Regions from separate parts of the Homo sapiens genome. Here all the other regions are linked to region 1. Evidence: promoter capture Hi-C in 16 types of primary human blood cells and fetal thymus (Javierre and others, 2016). All regions are on one chromosome and are shown on one strand. Each heading gives the region's core, a stretch centred on a gene start or on the middle of the fragment in contact. The rest is flanking DNA. Distances are from core to core; before and after follow the strand shown. Region 1 holds the start of SNHG5 (small nucleolar RNA host gene 5). Region 2 overlaps UBE3D (ubiquitin protein ligase E3D). Region 3 overlaps DOP1A (DOP1 leucine zipper like protein A). Region 4 overlaps DOP1A (DOP1 leucine zipper like protein A). Region 5 overlaps DOP1A (DOP1 leucine zipper like protein A). Region 6 overlaps DOP1A (DOP1 leucine zipper like protein A). Region 7 overlaps RWDD2A (RWD domain containing 2A).

Region 1 (3,218 bases), core at 300-2,799:
CACTAGCCCTAGAAAAGGAAAAACACGAGATTCTTACAAGACTACAAACATTACAACATATGTAAAAGCATTAAAAGTATTAAAAAAAAATATTGTCCTTATAACGGTCCATCTCAGAAGCCAGATCCGTAAAAGTTTTTTTTTTTCAACAGAAGTTCAGGTTCGGGATAAGATCATCACAGATAAGACCAAGGACACAATATTCACTGATCTCTAAGCAAACAGAAAAACTCCACTTACAGAAATCGTTGCAACTTTGGAACTTCCAAGACAATCTGGCCTCTATCAATGGGCAGACAGCGACCCTCACTGTTGGCAGAAAAAAAAAAAACCCAGGATTTTATAACACAACTGTTATAAAATCACGGCAACAAAATTTACTCCACCTCTGAATTACTGGTCTTAATCTCAGAAGCCGAATCCGTACTTATTTTTCTTCAGGTTATCAGCTTCGGGATAGGTTTCATCATTGATTAGACCAATCAGACCTTGTATATGTACACATAATACATTAAACTGCACTTCTGTGACACTGACTACAAACCAAGGTAATGCTAAAAGGCAAGTATTATAGTACAAATACTACAGAACTTTTAAGCCATACAACCTACTTCAAAATGAAGCTGCTAGTCAGTCACATTCGACATTCATTATCTTCACTGGCTACTCGTCCACACTCAGAACGCTGTTCACTGACAAAAAAAATTTGATTTAGTCTAGGTGTGGATTAAATGCTATGCTCAATCATAAAGTACTAAAACAACACATACCTGTTAAAAGTGTCAGGTTTTAACCAAGCGATTTTCCATTAAATATTCTCCCAGATGTTCTGGAAGTTTTTTCGTGTATCTAACAAAAAAAAGTAAATTTCAAACGATGCAACAGTTCCTATTCCTGTAAATCAACAGGTTTACTCCTTTAGTTTGGAAACTAAGCTTAACTAAGCTCTTACCTTTGCATCTTCAGAGCTGCTCCACTGTGCCACTGAAGACAGCGCCATTGTTCCTGCGGGAAATCGGTATTTAAGCATTCTCGCAGAAATGTCACACTCCAAGGCGTTTTTCCACACAAAACCCTTCCCCTTCATTAATCCGAATTGCACACAACGCCGCCTTCGAACAGCTCAGTTTCAATACAGGGTCGAGGCTTCCCATTTTAAAACAACGCCGACGGAAGGCCTTCGCCATTTTAGTAAAGGCCCTTTGCTGTTAAAACTAACCCTCCGCCCCAATTAAGGTGGTTTTTCCGCCGCCGCTCAGGCACATGCCGGAGGCCAGCAAGTTCGGCGCCCGTGGCCGATCAGCGGTTCCTCACGCCAAAACTCGGAGCCTGTGGCCGTCACGACTCAACCTCAGTACATGTGGCAGTCCGGCCGCACGTTTCCCACGTGCAAGCTTTCAACTCTCAGCACTCTAAACTCTTCACTAAGATGTCTTCACAGGATTAAAGCTCTTAACTCGGCCTGCGCCACCATCTTTTGCTCGGATACTAGCCCGCAATACCCACTCACCTACCACCCGCCCAGACGCTCGCGAAGGCCGACGTAAAAGACCGAAGTGCGCAGCCAGTAGCTCCTTATATAGCCTCCCGGAGTCAGAACGAGGCCGTCCCGCCCTCTCGCACCTATTGGACATGGAAGTAGACAGGGGTGTGGTCGCGAATTAGCGGGAGCGCGCGCGGTGGCTCTTCTGAGGCCCGTTCCGCGTTGTGGAGCGCGCCGCAGGCCGGCCGCGCGCCCGGCCATTTCCCGGCGCGCGCCCGCAGGCGCACTGCGAAGCGTCTCTTACGAGTCTGGCGGCCGACTTGGCCCTACGTGGCGCGGGTGTGGCGCCAGAATTCAAACAGCTGCAGTTGGAAACGACGCTTTCGCCTGCCACGAGCCAAGTCCGTCCAGGACAGATTGGGTCCGAGAGTGGACACAAGTTTTGCAGCGCAGGGCGGCCTCAGCTTAGGACCGATTCGAGAAGCTGGGCTGGCTGGCTGGCTGGCGCTGGGCTGTAGTGGGCCCCCAGCGGAGGCCGCCGGAGGAGCGGGCGAGCCCTGGCCGCAGCACTCCGGGAAAGGGCAGTTGGCTGGCAGAAACGCTTGGGTGAAAAAGCGGAAAGCGCCACGTGAGAACAGCCCCGGCGTGCGGCCCTGCAGGGCCTCAGGGCGGGCATCAAGGCCCCATGGGGATCCATTCCTCCTCACGCTTCCTCGTGCCAGGCATCCGGTTACACTAAACGTGACCATACAAGTCTCCCTCAAACAGCGAACGTGAGGTTCAATACTCCATTTCGCAGAGGAGAAAACTGAGGCTTAAAACAGCCAGGTAATTTGCCTAAGGTCACACAGCTGAAATGCTTTGCTAATTTTTAACTTCTTTGTACTCAATTAGTTATATTGAAAACGAGAGAAAGATTAATTTGAGAAGTATCCCTGAATACTTTATCCAGACGACAAACACAAAATTCAAAAGCAGTGCTTTGATTAATTAGCATGTTCGAGTGAATATGTCTGCGTGTGTGTGTGTGCACACGACATTTGAACATTTCAGTATTTGAAAATTCAGGTCGTTCTTCACTTCTATATTTCAAAGCACTACTTATTAAAGTTGTTTATGTGTGCATTTGATTACGGTCCGATTCTGCTAGAGTGTGGGAGCAACACATCTGATTTCGTGCTCTGCTGTTTATTTTTTCTTAGAACAGTGCCTAGCATTAAGTAGGTTGTCGGTAATGGTTAAATGAATGAATGAATGAACAAATACATTCGGTGGCTTTTTAGAAAATTAGAATGAAGATCAAACTTCACATTCAAAGATAGTAGTGAAAAGCACTTTTCTCTAACAGGAACCTATATGATGAAGTATTGACTGGGCCGGGCATTTTGTCGGTTTTTGTATTACTTTGTAATGTCTTACATAAATTTGCATATTGCTCATAGTAAATAGTAAAACAAACAATACAGTACAAAAGGATATAAGAAGCAAAGTAGGCCGGGTGTGGTGGCTTATGTCTGTAATTAGAGCACTTTTGGAGGCTGAGGTGGGAGGATTGAGCCCAAGACCCTGTCTCTATTGTATTAAAAAAATTTTTAAAAAGAGTTAACAAAAAAAGCAAAGTGAAAGTATCTTTCCACATGCCTGGGAATCTTCTCCCTAGTTGTACTCTTCAGCAATACCACTGTTAACAGTTTTTGAGACTTCCTATGCAAATGCAAATATATGTACTTCGTTT
Region 2 (3,218 bases), core at 398-2,897, 2.6 Mb before region 1:
GAGACCAGTGAACACAAACAATATGCAAATCAGCACATAGCAGTCAATTTATTTTGTCCTATAGTTTAAACAATGTTTGCAGATTTAAATTTTTAAAAATAATTCCAGTTTTGATATTTGTATATTCAGTTACAGAATACAGAATATGGATGGGCAAAAACCCAATACTATGTCCCTGGTGGTCTCTATTCCTCCATCTCTAAAATCACAATCCCAGAAAACACTCCACTGTGGCTTTCATGCTTGCCTTTCCCAAATCTCAGAACCCAACACAAAATTCCTGCTGTGGTTACTCTTGTGAAAGAGGTAACTGTTGTGAAGGAGAAGGTGATGACAACACAACATCCAGCCTCCCATGGCCTCTTCCCTGAAACAACACTTTCTCTGCCCATTATTAGGTGCAATCAGGGAGTCTACTTCCCAGCTCGGTGACCCTAACCTTCTTGCTATGGTTATTCCAACAGTCATTCCTAGTATTTATCCTACAACATTTAAGTGCCATGACATCTCTTTTCCCTACCCTTTGTTCCTAAAACTAACCCTGCCCAACTCAAACTAGTTATTCACTAACCCAGGACTTGAGCAAAAATTGCTCTCCAGTAAAAAAGAAATGAAACCCTCTCTATCTTCTCTTTCCTCACAAAAGCCAAGAGCACAGACTCAGGGGAATACTCAACATCTCCTAAATGGCTCTTCCAAACACTCCTCCTGACCCCATCTCCAGGATCCACACAGCGCAGATGAAAGGTTTATTACAGATGAGGCAGCAGCGAAGTGTCAGTGTGCAGCTGAAAGAATTACAATCTTTCTCTGATAATAAACATCACATAAGTCTTTTACAGCCTATTTCCCCCTTTGACATAATTTTAATCCCCCAAAGCATATATTACGTACATTGTAATAGATGTAATGAACCAATAATTTTATACAATAAATAACCCTGAGGTCTTAGAAAAAGCAAATTTTCCACTGCCTTACCGAATCATTATACCAGTTACAAAATGTTGTAAATATAACAGGCATAGTAAAAGTTAAAATCAAATTAAGTATCAAACTCAACTGTAGGACCTTTTGTGTACTGTTTTCTCTATTTGGAACAGTCCCCACATGGATAGGATTTCCTTATTCAGGACTCAGGTCAAACATTACCTCCTCAGAGTGGCCTTCACTGATCATCCTTCAGCCAACCCTAGTCACTCCCTATCCCATTATTCTGTTTTATATTATCATAACACTTTTCTTAATATTTAAATTGTTTGCTCATTATCTGCTCCCACCAATTAGAATGTAAGCTCCATGAGAGCAGACACCTCCCCTACCTTGTTCACTCTGTATCCCCAGAACCTAGATTGATGCCTAGCACATAGCACAAACCAAAATATTTGTTGAATGAATAAATTTCCATGTAATGCTTTAAAATCAATCAGGTCTTATACAACTGCCATCTGATTTAATCTTCCCATCTGTGAGCCAGAAAATTTTACAATTAAAGAAACAAGGCAGTGGGTAAATGGGAAATCTCTATACTTTCTGCTCAATTTTGCTGTGGGTGGAAAAGAAAGAAGGAAGGGAGGGAGGGAAGAAGCCTCAGAAAGGTTAAGTAACATGTTCAATTGCATACAGCCAATAACTGGCAGAGCTGACAAAGACCCTAGAGCTTCTCAACCCCTTCACCTGGGAAAAGTTCAACTTATCAAAGGAAAAATCACCTTTGGTTTATAACAAAAAGGTAAATACAGCAGCAGAAGTGCTAATATTACTCACTTGTGCCTAATTTTGCTTGCGTCTGCAGTCGCAGGTGCAGTCCATCTCCAACAACAAACTGTAGCCCACGGCAAGAGGAAGGTACAAGCCTGACCTCTGCTGGAAGCTGGATTTCTGTGCAGCCTTCAGGGGTTTTCATCTGGAGTGAAGATGGCATTATGGAAATATTCATGGGCATACCTCCTTCTTTCGGTTCTCTGGTAATTAAAAACAAAACCCAAACAAATTATTTCTCACAATGAAAACCACATGATGAAAGAAACAAAAATGGCCAAGGATCTCTTTCTTCCTCTTCAATAGGAGCTCTAAAGTCACTGCCCCAGAAAAACAGCAGCAAGCAGATCATAAAGGAAAGCAACCTACACTAGATTTAGATCTGATCAGAGTGCCCTTCACCATCACCATAATATGCAAGTCCTGGGACAGATTTTTGGTTCTTCCTTCTGAGAAGAGCACTAAAATAATGTTTTATAGTAAATCAGAGCAAAGTACTGTTATTTCATATACAAGATTTTAATAAAGAGACCAAGATTCAGTGAAACAATGATACAAGACAAAAACCTGTCAATTTTAAGAATAAAAAGAATTAATGAAGAAAACGATACAGTGATGTATGAATATCAGGTGTGAAAGGACTTACTAATCCAATTCAGAGCAAACACAAATTACTCAGTATAGGCAATAAAGAGTAAAACACAGTCCCTGTCAAAAGCCCCCAGGCATCAAAAGTATAGAGGGGATAAAGGCATCTATGGAAATGACCCTCCTCTGAAACTGCAATACGCTTAGCAATGCAACAGAGGTACAAAGTACCATGGCTCCCTCTTAAGTGCAGACAGCAGGTCATCCACATGGTGTCAACTAAGTGCAGACAGCAAGCCATTTGCTTGAGTGTCATCTGAGTACAGAGGGTAGACCATGTGCTCAGGTGTGGATCTTGGTTAGGCCTTAGAAATCTGCCTTAGAAAATCTTATAGCTACTTTCTGGCTAGTTCCTTTTCAAAGCATATGGATCTGCACTTAGTTAGCAATACAGAATATTAAGCATCTGAGTTTTTTGCAGGGATGACAGTTTCAAACCTGAGTCAAAAGTTCAATTTCAAGAAATGGTGTTTAAGAAATAATGATCCTCTAAAACAAGAGTCAGCAACTTTATTTCTGTGAAAGACCAGATAGTAAATATTTTAGGCTTTATGAGCCATGTATGGTCTCAAAGTAGAATACATATTATACTTTTTATTTTTTAAAAAACAACCCTTAAAAAATGTAAAATCAGCAGGTCGAGGTAGCTCACTCCTCTAATCCTAGCACTTTGGGAGGCTGAGGTGGGAGGATGGTTTGAGCCAAGAAGTTTGAGACCAGCCTGGGCAACAAAGCAAGGCTCTGGCTCTACAAAAAAATAAAAAATAAAAAATCAGCTGGGTATAGTGGCACGCACCTGTAGTCCTAGCCAC
Region 3 (3,218 bases), core at 504-3,003, 2.6 Mb before region 1:
CACTTAATTCATTATTTTTACCAACTGAGAATATTCTATTGTCATTCAATTTTTATAATGTTTATTGACTGTTTACCGTGGGTCAGGCACTTTTCTAGGAGCTGGGGATTTGAGAGCTAAAATGACAGATGAGGTCTCTCTGTTATAGCGATTACCACCCCTGGAGTCACAGTTCAATTACAATAAAGCAAGGTAAGTTCTATGATAGAGGAAGTATAGCATGTCATGGGAGTTCACAGGAAGGAGGTGTATATGTGAGTGTTAGGGGAATGGTGGAATGGTCCTGGAAGACTTCCCAAAAGGGATAAAATCTGAGACCTGAAGGATAAGTAGGTACTTGTCAGGTCAAGTTAGGATTTAGTGTTTGAAACAGAAGGAATAAAAGGGTGGCTCTCAAAAAATGCATTTAAAAATTATTGCAAAGCTATAGTAATCAAAATAGTATGGTACTGGCCAAAACAGACATATAGATCAATGAAATTGAATGGAGAGCCCCGAAATAAACACTAGTTTATACGGTCCAACAGTGTTTGACAAGGGTGCCAAGACGACTCAGTCAGGAAAGGATAGCCTCTTCACCAGATAGTGTTGGGAAAAACTGATATCCCTATGTGAAAAAATGAAGTTGTATATCTTATACCATACACAAAGATTAACACAAAATGGATTAAAGACCTAAAGATAAGACCTAAAACTATAAAGCTCCTAGAAGAAAACATAGGAGAAAAGCTTTATGACATTGAGTTTGGCAGTTTCTTGGATATGACAGCAAAAGCACAGACAATAAAAGCAAAAATAAAAAATAGGATTGTATTAATCTTAAAACTTTCTGTGCATCAGAGAGTACAAGAGAGTGAAAAAGCAAACTATGGAAAGGGAGAAAATATTCATAAATCATGTGTTTGATAAGAGGCTAATACCCAGAATATATAAAGAAAGAGCTACTCTTACAGTTCAATAACAACAAAGTAACTGAATTTTAAAATGGGCCAAGGACTTAAATAGACATTTTTCCAAAGATGATATATAAATGGCCAGCAAACATATGAAAAGATATTGAGGCCGGGTGTGGTGGCTCAGGCCTGTAATCCCAGCACTTTGGGAGGCCGAGGTGGGTGGATGATGAGGTCAGGAGATTGAGACCATCCTGGCCAACATGGTGAAACCCGGTCTCTACTAAAATACAAAAAATTAGCTGGGCGTGGTGGTGCACACCTGTAGTCCCAGCTATTCAGGAGGCTGAGGCAAGGGAATCGCTTGGACCTGGGAGGTTGAGCCAAGATCGCACCACTGCACTCCCGCCTGGAGGCAGAGCAGACTCCATCTCAAAAGAAAAAAAAATGTTGAAGATCACTAATCATTAGATAAATACAAATCAAAACCACAAAGAGATACCTAACCTTACACCCATTATGATGGCTACTATTAAAAAAAAAATAGTTTTGGCAAGGATGTAGGGAAATTAGAAACTTCTTGGGCACTGTTGGTAGAGATGTAAAATGGTTCAGCCCCTGTGGAACACAGTATGGCCATTCCTCAAAAAAAGTTTAAAAAATTACTCTCTAAATGCAGCAATCCCGCTTTTGGATATATCCAAAAGAGTTGAAAGCAGGATCTGGAAGAGGAATTTGCACACCCATGTTGATAGCAGCACTACTCGTGATAATCAAGAGGTAGAAACAACCTATGTGTGCATCTATGGATTAATGGATAAGCAAAATACAGTATCTACATAGAATGAAATATTACTAAGCCTTAAAAAAGGAAATTCTGACACATGCTATAACATGGATGAATCTTGAGGACATTATGCTGAGTGAAATAAGCCAGTTATAATAAAAAGACCCATACAATATGGTTCCCCTTACATGAGGTATCTAAAGTAGTCAAATTCATAAAAGCAGAAAATAGAATTGTTGTTTAATGGGTATAGAGTTGCAGTTTGCAAGATGAAAAGTTCTGGAGATTGGTTGCACAATAATGTGAATGTACTTAACACTACTGAACTGTACACTCAGTGGTTAAGATGGTAAATTTTGGCCAGGCTCAGTGGCTCATTCCTGTAATCCCAACACTTTGGAAGGCCAAGGCCAGAGGATTGCTTGAGCCCAGTTGTTCAAAACCAGCCTGGGCAACATAGCAAGACCCCTTAAAAAAAAGATGGTAAATGTTATATGCTTTAAAAACAATTTAAAAAGGACTATAGGCTGGGCACAGTGGCTCATACCTGTAATCCCAGCACTTTGGGAGGCCAGGGCAGGAGGATCGTTTGAGGCCACAAGTTCAAGACCAACCTGGGCAAGAAAGTAAGACCCTGTCTACAAAAAAAAATTTTTTTTTTTTAATTAGCTAGGCATGTTGGCACCCACCTGTAATCCTGGCTACTCAGGAGGCTAAGGCAAGAGGATTGCTTGAGCCCAGGAGTTAGAGACGTCAGTGAGCCATGATTGTGCCACTGCATTCCAGACTGGGTGATAGAATGAGACCTTGTCTCAAAAAAATAAAAAGGACTTTAAACTTCTAGAAACATGAAGCATATGTACATTTTTTACATTTTATACTGTCATGTAAGCCATGTTTCTAAATCAGGGGTGTCCAAACTTTTGGCCTCCCTGGGCCACATTGGAAGAAGAATTGTCTCAGGCCACACATAAAATACACTAACACTTAACTATAGCTGATAAGCTAAAAAGGTCCATGCATAAATCTCTTAATGTTTTAAGAAAGTTTACGAATTTCTTGGGCCACATTCAAAACTGTTCTGGGCTGTGGGTTGGACAAGCTTATTCTGAATATTGAAAAAGATACTGATTTAAAAATTAGGTCAAAGGGGTTGAATCACTAGGTATCATGCAGAGACATAGCATTTTGAGTTTGAGTATAATTTAATAGAAAATTAAATTCTATCCACAAAATTAATAGCATGTGTAAAGGCACTGAGATGGGAGGGAGCAAGTCTTGAACAGTGGACAATTGCCTAGGTTTTGCTTAGCTGGGACAGAAGTGTGAATAAGATTGAAGGAATGGGTCTATTTTATGAAGGCTTTATATGGCTAACAGCTTGCATTTCATGTCTAAGAAAATGAATATCACAATTATAGCAGTAATAAGAGCACTTCTTATACGCTAAGTTAACACTGAGCTAAAGAGCTTTCCAGGGATTATCAAATGTACTTTTCTGAGCTTCCAGCAGGGAACATGCTCCACCTGCTTTTTCC
Region 4 (3,218 bases), core at 463-2,962, 2.6 Mb before region 1:
AAGTATGTAATTTCTTCAAATTATATACAGATGTTTTAGCAGGTGTCTTCTCACCATTTTTTAAACATGAAAAATTTAAAATATAAGAATAACTTGAATTATATAAATGGTCTTGAGAGGTGTTTTAGCTGTTATGGTAACAGATGAAGCTCAGGAATTTTTTTAAGGAAATCTGTAATAGCAAGAAAATTTAGCCTTATGCATTTTAGTATTATTTAAATTAATAGCAGTAATTACAAGTAGCTTTTGTTGAATACTTATTATATTCTAGAAACTATGCTACCCATCTTACAAATATTTTTTCTAACCCTTAACAGTCCTGTAAATTTTGGTATTATCCTCATTCTGGATGAGGAAACTAAAGCTCAAAGAAGTTAAATAACTTGTCTAATGTAACAGAACTATTAACTGGCAAAACCAATTTCTCTGATTCTGTAATTTCTATTGTGTCAACCTGCACTTTAAATATTTGTTCAGTTATGTAATATCTTATATTACCTTCTCAAAGAAGTGTGAATTTAGCTTAGCTTCTGAAGAAATACTATTTTAAAAATACTTGTTTTTAAAACATTGTTTCATTGGGCCAATTTTCAGATAAGCATGATTTGCTCATGCTGATTAATTACTGTCTTTAATTTGAATATTAATTTTAGGACCTGTAATTCTAGAAGATGTCCTGATTGAAGTGTTTAGAACATTATATTCTCAATGCAAAGCAGAGTTGGATCTTCAAACTGAACCACCCTTCAGCAAGGATCATGCTCAGTTAAGCAGGTGGATTATCAAAAAATTAAATGTGACATGAAGACATAATATGTATTCACTTAATATAAACTTGAAGTGTAATAACTTGGGATCCTACTCTATGAAGTTTGTGTTCTAATAAGTAAAGCTGATTTAATACTAGTAAAGCTGATTTAATACTGACATACTAGTTGTATTGACAGTGCCTCACTATATAAAGACAATTGTTTTAATTGTTACAAAAGACAGGAGGAGGAAATAGGTAATAGGCTAAAGGGTTGCCACTTGAAATAACAAAGTTCTTTTTCCCTGATGCAATTTCAGTAATAGTGGCTATTAACAGCACTAGTTGGTTTTGTTGTTGTTGTTTTTCAAACTAAGAATAATAATTTGATTGAAACTGGTCAAGGTAAACCTTTCTTAAGAAAATCCTGAATAGCACAGGGAAGCAGACAAAATTCTTCACAATCAAGGCTGTGAAAATCAAATCACTACTCAGTTTGTATGTGCCAAGGGAAATAAAAGAATTTTGCCAAATTTACAGTCCCACACACTAAATAGTTCAAAAAGAAATTCTTGTTCTTTTGTCTTTTTTATTATGCAGAAACTGTGCAAGTCTCATTTCTGATCTTGATGTTTGACAAAAATTCAAATTTGAAAAAATAACTGCCCATAAAATGATAGGAGAGTGGCAGTAGATAAAAATTATTTGTTGCAATCTTCTTACTAGCACATTTTCTAGCAACTACCTAGGAATATGTACTGGCACTGCACTCAAATTTAAATTTGAAAAAACAAATGTTAATATTTTTTAGTTTTTGTTTTCTTTTCTCTTTTTTCAGTAAATTAAGAGAAAATAAGAAAACAGCAGAGCTGATTAAAACTGCTAACCTTCTCTTTAATTCCTTCGAACCTTATTATATGTGGGATTATGTTGCACGCTGGTTTGAAGAATGTTGTAGGTATGTTAAACTTTCATTCCTTTTAATTTCGTAACATCTAAAGCTAACCTTTGGGTTTTTTTTAAGTTGTTACATTTAATGAATGTTCTTTTATACATTCTATTACTAATAATAACTGTTACTTACTATCCATAATCTGACTCTACCTTGTCACATAGGATATAAAATCATTGATCATATAATCTTAGAATTGGAAGGGAGTTTAGAGATCAGTTATTCATACACCAGAGTAGATTAAAAATTTTCCGTCTTCAGTCTATAGTAATCCAGTTTTTTTGTTGTAGAAAAGATAGCAAATTTTTGGCTGCTGCCTCAGCACACTTTTCCAAAAGGATTTCCACTTTGATTAACAAAAAACTTTTTGGCCTGACTTGTGTTTTTAAAGCCATTAGAACTAATCCATGCTGTCACTGGGAAGTGATAAAAGCCTTCTACCCCTTAGCAAATAAAGCAAAAAATATGGTCTGAAAACCCTAGGATACTAGTGAATCTGAGTGGAATCTCTGTCTGGCTTCTAGACCAGATCCTCTCAACCAGATTAACCACTCAAGGCCCAGGAGCATGTAGTCAAAATGTAATTATGTACGATTTCAGCATTAGAAGTCTTTTAATAAAAAATGTTAATTGTTGCTCCTACACATTAATCTCTTTAGTGGTTTAGAAAGTTCCTAGCTTATTCAGCAGAGGTTGAGCACCCAGTTAAAAAGCATCATGCTAGGCAGATAGACAGTCCCTGTCTTCAAAGATCTTATAGTGGGAACAAATAAGACATGCACGCGTATATTCCTAGTATTAAAAATTACAAATGTCTTAATAGATTAAAATGTAGGAATCGTATTTTTTTGCCGCCTGGCCCTACCCTGGGTTTTTACCTTCTACATTCACAAATGCACACATCCACACTTCTTCAGCCAACCTGGACTATTCTCTGAAAGTTAGCAGCATTTTAACTTTCATTCTGCTGAGGCTTCACTTGTGCTATTCCTTCTGAAATACTCTTTCCCCTTGCCTATCTGCTAAAATCCTATGTAGAGGTTACCCACCTTTCCTTCCTTTCCTCAAATAGCCTATCAGAATCAATGCCTCCACACTGTCACATTGTTGCTTTTATTTGTCTACATGCTTATATTCTTGTTGGTCAGGGACTATATTATATTCTTACTTTGTGTCTTCAGAGTGGAGGGCAATGTATGGTCATATAGGATTTCTATGATTTAATGTGAATGTTTGTTGGAGGAATGATCTCTACTACTTGGATCAGAAGAGGCTTCCTGGAGGAGGTAACATTTGATCTCAGACTTTGAAGGACAGATGCATTCTGATCATGGGAAAATGAGATTGGGGAGGACAGTAGTACAGAAGGACAAATGAGCCTATTTTAAGACCCAAGGTTAGAAATCAAGTAGCAGTTAATCACTGTTAACTAGGAGGTGATATCTATACAGGAAGCAATGGGAAATAAGTCCCAGAAAGTGAGATCCATTCAGAACACTTCGAAGTACAGGATGGGAG
Region 5 (3,218 bases), core at 486-2,985, 2.5 Mb before region 1:
AAAATCTCAACCTCATTCTGATAGCACCAAGCATAAGCTACCTAAAATAGTGTTGATACTTATAGAGTACATGAATCATTTAAAAGTGAGTGGTGGACTATCAACTTCTGATATATGGAAGGAAAAATTGACAGTCTTTCCATTCCTTCCATCTGTTTTCAACTTTTAAAATAGCTCATGTGTTCTGAATTTTTCCTACTGAGTGGAAGAGAACTGCATGGCTCATTAATGAAAAATTGATGATTTTGTTCTTTCAATTTTTTTAATTAAAAATTGGCAGTAAGATACAGAGTAGTTGCAACAATGAAAAAGCAAAGGCAGTATTCTTCTTCACTACAAAATTGATTTCTTTTATTTATAGAAACATCTTTCTTTGGAAGTCTGCATGCTTCAGTTTTTCTATGCTTATATTCAAAGGTAAGATTACTGATATTGATCTGTCCTTACTATGTTGCTAGAAACAGAGAAACATTATTTATGGATATATTAATATAAGTAATGAGTGTCTTAACGACCCAGCCATGTATATCCTACAAACCTAAAGACCTAAGGATATTGAAGATTCCTAGATAGTAAAACACTGAATTGTGATAAAATCATTTAAACATAAATGAAAAGTTGAACCTACTCTCGAAACTATGCATATTGCCACTGAATCCATTATTTTGGTATAGGTGAACATACAGTAATTCATTCTGCTTTTTTAATGTTAGGAATGATTACATGAAATATCTTCTTACTATCATATTCCATTTTGCGTTTAACTGACCTGTGAACAGAAGTTATGATTTGAGTTTTTATAACTTCTTACTCAAGAACCTGACTCTTCATCCTCCTTTATAAGATAATTCCATTTTATTCACCAAACTCAGCCTCCATTTGTAATCTATGACTAGCATTATAAGGTCAGGCTATTGAGTGTATTTAAACTGGTTGTGACCTAGAGCAAGCACTGCCTAAAATCTGAACTTATATACAGAGAGGTGTTAGGGTTAAGGTCAGACTGAAACAAAGATAGTCTTCATTATTTTTACAGGTTAAAGACTAATGTTCAGTTGACAGCCCTCCATAATATGAGGTAGAGACGTACAAGGTGAAGGAAAAAGAACTAAGAGGGAAATGGAGAGACCAGGCTAGGGAGTACATGACTGTGGTATCAGTAGTTAAACTGAGAATTACTGCAGTTGTATTTTACTTTTGAGATCCCATGTGATAAATGGGATTTCAATAGAAAAATTTCTAGATTAAGAAATTGCAGGCTAGGGGCGGTGACTCTCGCCTGTAATCTCAGCACTTTGGGAGGCCGAGGCGGGCGGATCACGAACTCAGGAGATCAAGACCATACTGGCCAACATGGTGAAACCCTGTCTCTACTAAAAATACAAAAATTAGCTGGGCATGGCAGCGCACGCCTGTAGTCCCAGCTACTCAGGAGGCTGAGGCAGGAGAGAATTGCTTGAACCGGGGAGGTGGAGGCTGCGGTGAGCCGAGATCGCGCTACTGTGCTCCAGCCTGGGCAACAGAGTGAGACTCCATCTCAAAAAAAAAGACAAAAAAAGAAAAAAGAAATTGCACTGGGGCCAGATGCAGTGGCTCATGCCCATAATCCCAACACTTTGGGAGGCCAAAGCAGGTGGATCGCTTGATCCCAGAAGTTTGAGACCAGCCTGGGCAACATGGTGAAATTCCATCTCTGTTTTAAAAAAAAGAAAGAAATTGCATTGATATTTCAACTGTGTTGGTTTACTAATTAACGTTAGTAAAAATGTAAAGTTTTTAGGAATTTTGTTCTATCATTGTCTATAAAAATTTAGAGAATGTTCCACAAACTAGTAGAAAACCATAGTTTATTGTGGCTTTTGTATAAACTATATTATCTTGCAGAATTCCAGTGCCCAATTTAGTGGATAGCTGGGCGTCACTGTTGATACTTCTGAAAGACTCTATACAACTGAGTCTTCCAGCTCCAGGGCAGTTTCTTATACTTGGGTAAGCAATTTCACTTAATATTATTTCAAATAAAAGGATAATGTTAATTGTCCTAGTTGCCAAGTATTAGTAATAGATATTTTAGGTGACAGTGATCTCTCTACCTTCTCATAGTGTTCTTGAGATGCAAAACTAGATGTATAAGGCCTGTTTAAGAAAAAAAAAAGTGGGAGGCAGGGTGAGAGGAGGAAACAGTCTATGTTTATACATATACAAAATGTAACTACACTAACATAAAACTGTTACAACAGTAGCTGTTTCCGTGGTGGTGGAGAGTATGGAATGGAAAGGGGAGGGGGTGATGTAGCATGGCTGAAGGGGAACTTCACAGAGGAGGGACACTTGAGCTGGGCCCCAAACCTAAACAGCCTGGGAAAATTTTTCTCTTTGTGTCTTGAAGTTTTCTGATTTATCTTAGTGATTTATATGATTATTTGATAAATGTTAGTCACCTATGACTGCAAGTACTGGGATGTCATAGTCAGTCTCTCTTTCTTGCTTGCCATTATTCTTGATTCCTAATAGGTCCCCAGTAAATACTTGGTAAGTGAATAGAGGTGGTGGGCACAGAAAGCCTTTGTGAAACAGGAAGGGGAAGGGTATTCTGGGGCAAAGTACCTTGTCTGATTTGGTAATAGAGCAGGGCACAGGCAGTGGTATAGTGGAAAATAAGACTGAATGAAAAGGGAGATGGGAGCTAGATGGGGCAGGATCTTGAATTTTATTTTAAAGAATGTGGTCTTGAAAGGGAGTGGGAGCGGTTGCAGGTTTTTGAGGAGAGACATGACTGGCATGTTAGTAGTAGTAGGCTAGATCAGAGGGGAAAGAGGCTAGACTAGGAATTCTATTTCAAGTGGGAAGTGTGGGGATGGTTTCAACTATTGATGGGATTGAAAGAACAGGATAAAGAAGGAGAAGGGGCCAGCAAAGGAGATAGAAAGGGAAGTATCAAAAAGAAGAAAACCAGGCATTTGATTGTCCAGAACCAAAGGGAGGTTAAGAGAGCATGGTTAACACCTACAGAGAGGTTAAGGAAGGTGAGGAATAATAAAAGGCTATGTTTGTTGACAATCTGGACAGGCATCCTAATTGTCCAATCACCAGTTATCTGATGATTTTGGAGAGAGGGTTTGGAGAGGTAGCAGCACAGATGTGTTAACAGCAAATGCTTAGTGTGGGAAAGTAAGTGTTGATTCTTCTTTGAGGATATTTGATCATGAAAAGAAAGA
Region 6 (3,218 bases), core at 487-2,986, 2.5 Mb before region 1:
AAGTAATTGCTGTTTGGGACCATGAATTTTAAGTCATTATAACTAGGTTCACACAAATCTTTATTAATTAAAATAGGAACCATTACAATCAACACATTTTTGCCAATGAGAAATAAGTTTGTTTACTCCTGTAGCATAAAAATCCATGCTTCCAAATTTGACGAACTCTTGGAAAGCATTTTCTGTGTCCTGCTAGTTGTGGAAGCAATTTCCCTGCAAAACGTTGCTGAGATGCCTAAAGAAGTGGTAGTTTGTTGGCAAGAGGTCAGGTGAATATGGCAGATGAGGCAAAACTTCATAGCCCAATTAGTTCAATTTTCGAAGCGTTGGTTGTGCAACGTGCGGCCCAGTGTTGTCGTGAAAAGAATTGGGCCCTTTCTGGTGGCCAATGCCGGCTGCAGGCATTGCAGTTTTTGGTGCATCTCATTGATTTGCTGAGCATACTTATCAGATGTAATGGTTTCACCTGGATTCAGAAAGCTGTAGTGGATCAGACTGGCAGCAAACCACCAAACAATGACCATGACCATTTTTTGGAGCAAGTTTGGCTTTGGGAAGTGCTTTGGAGCTTCTTTCAGTCCAGCCACTGAGCTGGTCATCGCCAGTTGTCGTATAAAATCCACCTTTTGGCACACATCACAATCCGATAGAGAAATGATTCATTATTGTTGCATAGAATAGAGAAAATGACACTTCAAAACAACGAATTTTTTTATTTTTCACTCAGCTCATGAGGCACCCATTTATTGAGCTTTTTCACCTTTTCAATTTGCTTCAAATGCCGAACGACCATAAAATGGTCAACATTGAGTTCTTGGGCAGCTCTCTTATAGTTGTAAGAGGATCAGCTTCGATGATGTTCTCAATTGGTCATTATCAATTTCCGATGACTGGCCACTGCACTCCTCATCTTCAAGGCTCTAGTCTCCTTTGCAAAACTTCTTGAGCCATCACGGCACTGTATGTTCATTAGCAGTTCCTGGGCCAAATGCATTGTTGATGTTGTGTGTTGTCTCTGCTGCTTTATAACCTATTTTGAACTCAGAAAATCGCTAAATTTGATTTTTGTCTAACATCATTTCCATAGTCTAAAATAAATATAAACAGCAATAAGTCATTAGCAAAAAAAAAGTGAGAAATATGCTTAAAATGATGTATAACATAACCACATTTATTTAAGAATGTACTCCAATATAAAACGGCAAATTTCAACAATGCAAAAACCGCAATTACGTTTGCACCAACCTAATATTTTCCTTTTTCAGGATTTTACTTTAAAATAAGCAATAAGCTTGAGAGCACATAGAAGAAAATAAGCTGGATTTTGCATCTGCTTGACCCACTAGGAAACTAGTGATATTAAATTATTAGGTAAACAATGAAAGTTTCTGAGCAACATCTGATCTTAGAAGGCAAACTCCATTTGTTAATATGACAGATTGTAATTCTGCTTCCTAAGTCTTCATGATTTCTTCCTTCTGTCTAGTTCATTGCTTATTTTCATTCTTTAGTGTGGAATTGTATCTGTGATTCTGCCCAAGTTCAACCAACCTGTTCTCTCTTATCTTTCTCTAGACAGAATGATGTCTGTAGCTGTGTTTGTGTAATTCAGGTGGCTTCTCAAACTAGCCTCTTAATACCCAAATTATTAGTCTTTATATTTAGTTGACAGAGTTTTCACATACCTTCTCATTTGACTTCTCTACTAAAAGGTAGTTTTAGACTGTCCCATTTTATAAGTGAGGAACCTTTGTATATCCTGCCCAAGGGTGCCGTAAGTATGGCAGAGCCAGCACACTAACTCAATTCCTTTGACTCCAGGTCCAGCTTTCCTCCCTATGTTGTTTAGCACAACCCAGAAGGAGACAGCAGTGTCTCCTGAGGGATCCCTTCCTTTCTCTGTGATGCAGTACTGACAGTAATTATTCACTTTGGACACTGCTACCATCATGGCAAATTTAGGCCATTTAGATAAAAGGGAATTAACTAATTATAATAAAAGGGGATATATTATGAAATGTATAAAGCACTTTGTTCCTTTTTTCTGTAGTAATTTTGTGACCTAGTCCTTGGTTACAGTAGTGAGGGTTCAGAAACCTGGGAGCTTTTTGAGTAAATACAAAGCACAACATAAAACTTTTATGTTTGACTCTATTCCTGTTCAAAGCTATTTCTGTTAACTAAGCTTATCTGCGCATTCTAGTTGGGAACTATTACTACAATGTTAGACTGCTCCATGTAAAACTAATAAATGGCAGTAAAAGGTCTCAGAAGCACCAAGGGTTTTGATCAGGTCAGGAGTTAGAAACTTAATGTCATTTGTATTCATTTCTTGACCAATTGCCAAAGTTTATATATTTTTAATTTTTCTAACATACCACATTGTCTGTTGTATTAATACCAGTTCACTTTTTGTTTTCTGCAGAAAAATCCAGAGGAAGACAACTCAGGGAGAACATTGGGTTGGGAGCCAGGGCACTTGCTGCTCACCATCTGCACCGTGCGCAGTATGGAGCAGCTCCTGCCGTTCTTCAATGTGCTCAGTCAAGTCTTCAACAGCAAAGTCACAAGCCGATGTGGAGGACACTCAGGGAGTCCTATCCTCTACTCAAATGCCTTCCCTAATAAGGACATGAAACTGGAGAACCACAAACCATGTTCCAGCAAAGCCAGGCAAAAAATAGAAGAGATGGTAGAAAAAGATTTTCTGGAAGGGATGATAAAAACTTGAGCACCATTGCTGGTTCCATTTAGCTTACATGTAAATGTAATTATTTAAAACACACACACTGCTCTGCGTTGTATAGTTTTTCCTTTTTTGTATGTAACAGAACACATTTCAGATTGTATTTAATTTAAATATTTGTATATAAGAGCAAATGTCTGAATGTGGCCTGAATCAAGTTTAAATATTGTTGGCTCATACTGATTATGGTGCCTAAGAGAGCTATATATATACACATGTAAAGTCCATTGTTTTTATTGTCCTGAGTTGTCTTAAACCTGCAAAATATACACTACCCATTTTTTTTTTCCATTGGTTTCAGACTTGGTTCAATTAAGATTGGTTGGGGATTTTTCTCTTTTCCTTATTAACCATGTTCTGGTATCAGAATGGTGTTCCTTCTCCATCAGAGGCTGGGAAACGTATTATAATTAGTTTTTCTCCCACATACCTTCACCAAGAGCAGTGAAGAATAACTGAAGGCTGGACCATG
Region 7 (3,218 bases), core at 242-2,741, 2.5 Mb before region 1:
GCTGGTTACACACTTCAATGGAACCCTCCACTTTTCCATGGTAATGCTTTTCACAATTGAAATTAAATACTTGCTATATGTAATTATTTGTTTAATGTGTGTCTCCTTCACTAGGCCCTGGACTTCATGAAGGGCAAAAATAGTGTCTGGTTTATTCACTTTTTTATCCCAGCACAAGGGCACCTGGCACACGTAGTTGTTCAATAAATATTGAAATAATGCATAAAAGGAAGCAATCATGTATGTAAAGTACCTGGTACATTTAATAGTAGCAATAACATTTCTCAAAATCATGCAGTTGCTATTGATAAACTAGCTTATGTGATGTTATGGTATTTAAATCTATTTGATTTTCATTTTAAGGTGAAAATTGATTTGCAAGTGACCATGCCTCACAGCTACCCCTATGTAGCATTGCAGCTGTTTGGACGGTCATCTGAACTTGACAGACATCAGCAGCTACTTCTCAACAAAGGTCTCACTTCTTACATAGGGACTTTTGATCCAGGTGAGCTCTGTGTATGTGCAGCAATCCAGTGGCTACAGGACAACAGTGCATCTTATTTCCTGAACAGAAAGCTTGTATATGAACCATCTACACAAGCAAAGCCAGTCAAGAACACATTCCTCCGAATGTGGATCTACAGTCACCATATATATCAGCAGGACCTAAGGAAAAAGATTTTGGATGTTGGGAAAAGGTTAGATGTGACTGGATTTTGCATGACAGGAAAGCCTGGTATAATCTGTGTGGAGGGTTTCAAAGAGCACTGTGAGGAGTTCTGGCACACAATTAGGTACCCCAATTGGAAGCACATTTCCTGTAAGCATGCTGAAAGCGTGGAGACAGAAGGAAATGGTGAGGACCTGCGCCTTTTCCATTCTTTTGAAGAGTTACTCCTTGAGGCTCATGGTGACTATGGATTAAGGAATGACTATCACATGAATCTGGGCCAATTCTTAGAATTTCTCAAGAAGCACAAAAGTGAGCATGTTTTTCAGATACTATTTGGTATTGAAAGCAAAAGTTCAGACTCATAAAAAGCGATTAAGAGGCCTATGCCTGTAATTTCACTAAGTCAGTATTTCTGTTAATAAGACCAAATTAAAAAGGCTAGTGGCTGTGTAGCATCCTCAGTGCAAAACCCAGCTCCAGAATTTTCACCTGGTAACGAATTTCAACTGACAGTGAAATGAATAGGCCTTTAAACTTTATAACATTGCAATTGTGATGTTATCTCTAGGTTTTTGTGTGAAGTCATTCAAAAACTATTTCATTGTAAATTAATAAAAACAATCCATTTAACTTGTGAAGCTGATTTGATTGAAGAGGAATCCAAAGCCCATAACTAACATCAAAAATCAAACTGCAATTATGAATTGAGAAATATGAATAGCATTTGTTTCACATTGCTAGCACACATGTGACACACCCACTTGTCTTTCATTATTGGAAATCTAAATCAAGTTTAAAATGAGAACAGGAAGGACATGTTTACTTCCTTTTTTGAGACGGTGCGATCTCGGCTCACTGCATCCTCAGCTTCCCAGGTTCAAGCGATTCTCCTGCCTCAGCCTCCCAAGTAGCTGGGACTACAGGCGTGCGCCACCACGCCCAGCTAATTGTTATATTTTTAGTAGAGACAGGGTTTCATCATGTTGGCTAGGATGGTCTCAATCTCTTAACCTCGTGATCTGCCTGCCTCGGCCTTCCAAAGTGCTGGGATTACAGGTGTGAGCCACCGCGCCCAGCCCGTTTACTTCATTTCTTACTTTAAACTCCTATTTCGAGTGTTTTAGTAAAACTAGATCCTAATAGCAGTGGCAAAGGACTCATAGACATGAAGTCCCACGAGTTAAAAGATGACACACAATGCTATGTGTTCTGGCTGTTTATATCAGTTCATGATACTAGCAATCCTGATACCAGTATTAGTTTAATTCTTATCCAGAAAAGATAAACACATGGTTCCTTGTCTACAAAGTATTCGCCTGTTTCAATCCAACCTTTGCCTGTGTGCCAGTATGCATTACTATAAAGGGCAAGAGACTGTTGAGGGGACCAGTGTGGATATCTGCATCATTACCTTATTGGGAAAAAAAAAATCTAATTCTACAGTCCGATGATGTTACTGCCATCTCCTCTGAAAATTCCAAGCTCCACAGGCTTCACCAGGCTTTTCAAAATGAGAGTTTATTTTAATGATTAAAAACCGCTATTTAAGTAGCTCTTGCCAAGCCTTTTCATTACCAGGTCTCCATCCCTCCCCAAGTATTTCTGCGAGTCTCATGTGCTAAGAGATGTCTTGAGCAGCCTCTGCAGCTTTCCGTGTTTCTGTGGTCAGCTACTGCTGCCCTTTCCCGGGAGGCATTCCATTCTCCTACTGGGTCCTCTCAAGATGCCAAAGCTTGGTGCTGGGATTTAGGAACACATCCTGTTAGATGTCAGACAGTGCTGCTTGTGCTGGGGAGCCTACAGAACTTCTGATGAAACTACCATCTGGTTTTACCCTCTGTGCCGTGGATGCAGACGTGTCCTTGGGCTACAGAGAGGACATGATGGAGCAGGAGGCCCTATCCCAAGGAGGTGTTAGAACTGGGTCCACTTTGTACTGCCTCTTTCTTCTTAGGTCACAATGAGTGTCCTCTCAGGGCACAACTCAGATCTTCAACCCATGGCTCGCTGTAGGCCTGCCCCGCCAGGTCCTCCAGCTTGCCATTCATGTTTCCATCCTAGCCTTGGTTGTGCTGGAACTCAGGCTGGAGCCTGACACTTTGCCTATATGCAAAGGGAAGAAATAGGACTTACATTGCCAAGGAATCACTTCTTAATGTTTGCCAGCACTAAAAACAACAAAGTATAGGAATCTTTTTCCCCCACAGTCTCCACAAAGCTATCAATAAGTATAATTCGCATTTACAAGTTTTAGGCCTTCAACAGATGTAACTCCATCCAAATGAATCAATATGTGCCATCAACCTACCTTATAGAGGTGTTTTTCCTGATTACATGAGCAAAAGTAGCTACAGAAAGATGGGTGTAAAGAAAAGGCAATAAATTCTAGGTTATGAACTCTACTGCTTCTGGAGCTATTTCTGAGATTTTTCAGAACCTACTTTTTTATAAATAAGTCTAATTTGAGCATTCTGCAATACTTTTTTTCCTATCAGGAAAACTAATGCAGATAGTATTATGGGGACGTGTAGGTTTTATAGAA

Evidence for each region. The method cuts DNA at HindIII sites, captures the fragments that hold promoters and counts their contacts. A CHiCAGO score of 5 or more calls a contact.
Region 2: a contact is called between a fragment that was not itself captured here and the fragment with the promoter of SNHG5 in region 1, in 1 of 17 cell types (naive CD8 T cells). The highest score is 5.5, in naive CD8 T cells.
Region 3: a fragment that was not itself captured here is called in contact with the fragment with the promoter of SNHG5 in region 1 in 4 of 17 cell types (neutrophils, naive B cells, total CD4 T cells and 1 more); the score reaches 9.8 in neutrophils.
Region 4: a contact is called between a fragment that was not itself captured here and the fragment with the promoter of SNHG5 in region 1, in 2 of 17 cell types (neutrophils and activated CD4 T cells). The highest score is 5.1, in neutrophils.
Region 5: a contact is called between a fragment that was not itself captured here and the fragment with the promoter of SNHG5 in region 1, in 1 of 17 cell types (neutrophils). The highest score is 5.6, in neutrophils.
Region 6: a fragment that was not itself captured here is called in contact with the fragment with the promoter of SNHG5 in region 1 in 3 of 17 cell types (naive CD8 T cells, total CD4 T cells and naive B cells); the score reaches 9.3 in naive CD8 T cells.
Region 7: a fragment that was not itself captured here is called in contact with the fragment with the promoter of SNHG5 in region 1 in 4 of 17 cell types (non-activated CD4 T cells, total CD8 T cells, naive B cells and 1 more); the score reaches 10.9 in non-activated CD4 T cells.

What each region holds. Positions count from the first base shown.
Region 1 is chr6:85,677,184-85,680,401 of GRCh38, forward strand. SNHG5 (small nucleolar RNA host gene 5) reads right to left here and starts at 1,550. Exons shown (of 6, transcript NR_003038.2): 1 at 1,511-1,550; 2 at 953-1,005; 3 at 771-849; 4 at 612-692; 5 at 241-309; 6 at 1-8. SNORD50B (small nucleolar RNA, C/D box 50B) reads right to left here and starts at 476; the gene lies at 406-476. It overlaps SNORD50A (small nucleolar RNA, C/D box 50A), which reads right to left and starts at 185; the gene lies at 111-185. RefSeq lists enhancers at 1,131-1,190, 1,361-1,520. The HindIII fragment of the contact is 13,479 bases long and covers 1,393-3,218 here.
Region 2 is chr6:83,056,062-83,059,279 of GRCh38, forward strand. UBE3D (ubiquitin protein ligase E3D) reads right to left here. Exons shown (of 10, transcript NM_198920.3): 2 at 1,765-1,961. Among named protein-coding and RNA genes, the nearest start is that of UBE3D, 8.2 kb to the right of the region's middle. The HindIII fragment of the contact is 7,857 bases long and covers 1-3,218 here.
Region 3 is chr6:83,075,182-83,078,399 of GRCh38, forward strand. The region is part of intron 1 of DOP1A (DOP1 leucine zipper like protein A); the gene reads left to right. Among named protein-coding and RNA genes, the nearest start is that of DOP1A, 9.1 kb to the left of the region's middle. The HindIII fragment of the contact is 2,053 bases long and covers 728-2,780 here.
Region 4 is chr6:83,121,277-83,124,494 of GRCh38, forward strand. It overlaps DOP1A (DOP1 leucine zipper like protein A), which reads left to right. Exons shown (of 39, transcript NM_015018.4): 11 at 654-774; 12 at 1,587-1,706. Among named protein-coding and RNA genes, the nearest start is that of DOP1A, 55 kb to the left of the region's middle. The HindIII fragment of the contact is 3,912 bases long and covers 1-3,218 here.
Region 5 is chr6:83,146,875-83,150,092 of GRCh38, forward strand. DOP1A (DOP1 leucine zipper like protein A) reads left to right here. Exons shown (of 39, transcript NM_015018.4): 26 at 362-417; 27 at 1,885-1,989. It also overlaps a transcript of PGM3 not described here. Among named protein-coding and RNA genes, the nearest start is that of PGM3, 45 kb to the right of the region's middle. The HindIII fragment of the contact is 7,536 bases long and covers 1-3,218 here.
Region 6 is chr6:83,165,437-83,168,654 of GRCh38, forward strand. It overlaps DOP1A (DOP1 leucine zipper like protein A), which reads left to right. Exons shown (of 39, transcript NM_015018.4): 39 at 2,426-3,035. The coding sequence ends at 2,731. It overlaps PGM3 (phosphoglucomutase 3), which reads right to left. Exons shown (of 13, transcript NM_015599.3): 13 at 1-3,218. Among named protein-coding and RNA genes, the nearest start is that of PGM3, 26 kb to the right of the region's middle. The HindIII fragment of the contact is 894 bases long and covers 1,290-2,183 here.
Region 7 is chr6:83,195,232-83,198,449 of GRCh38, forward strand. RWDD2A (RWD domain containing 2A) reads left to right here. Exons shown (of 3, transcript NM_033411.5): 3 at 364-3,218. The coding sequence ends at 1,041. Among named protein-coding and RNA genes, the nearest start is that of RWDD2A, 3.5 kb to the left of the region's middle. The HindIII fragment of the contact is 1,829 bases long and covers 578-2,406 here.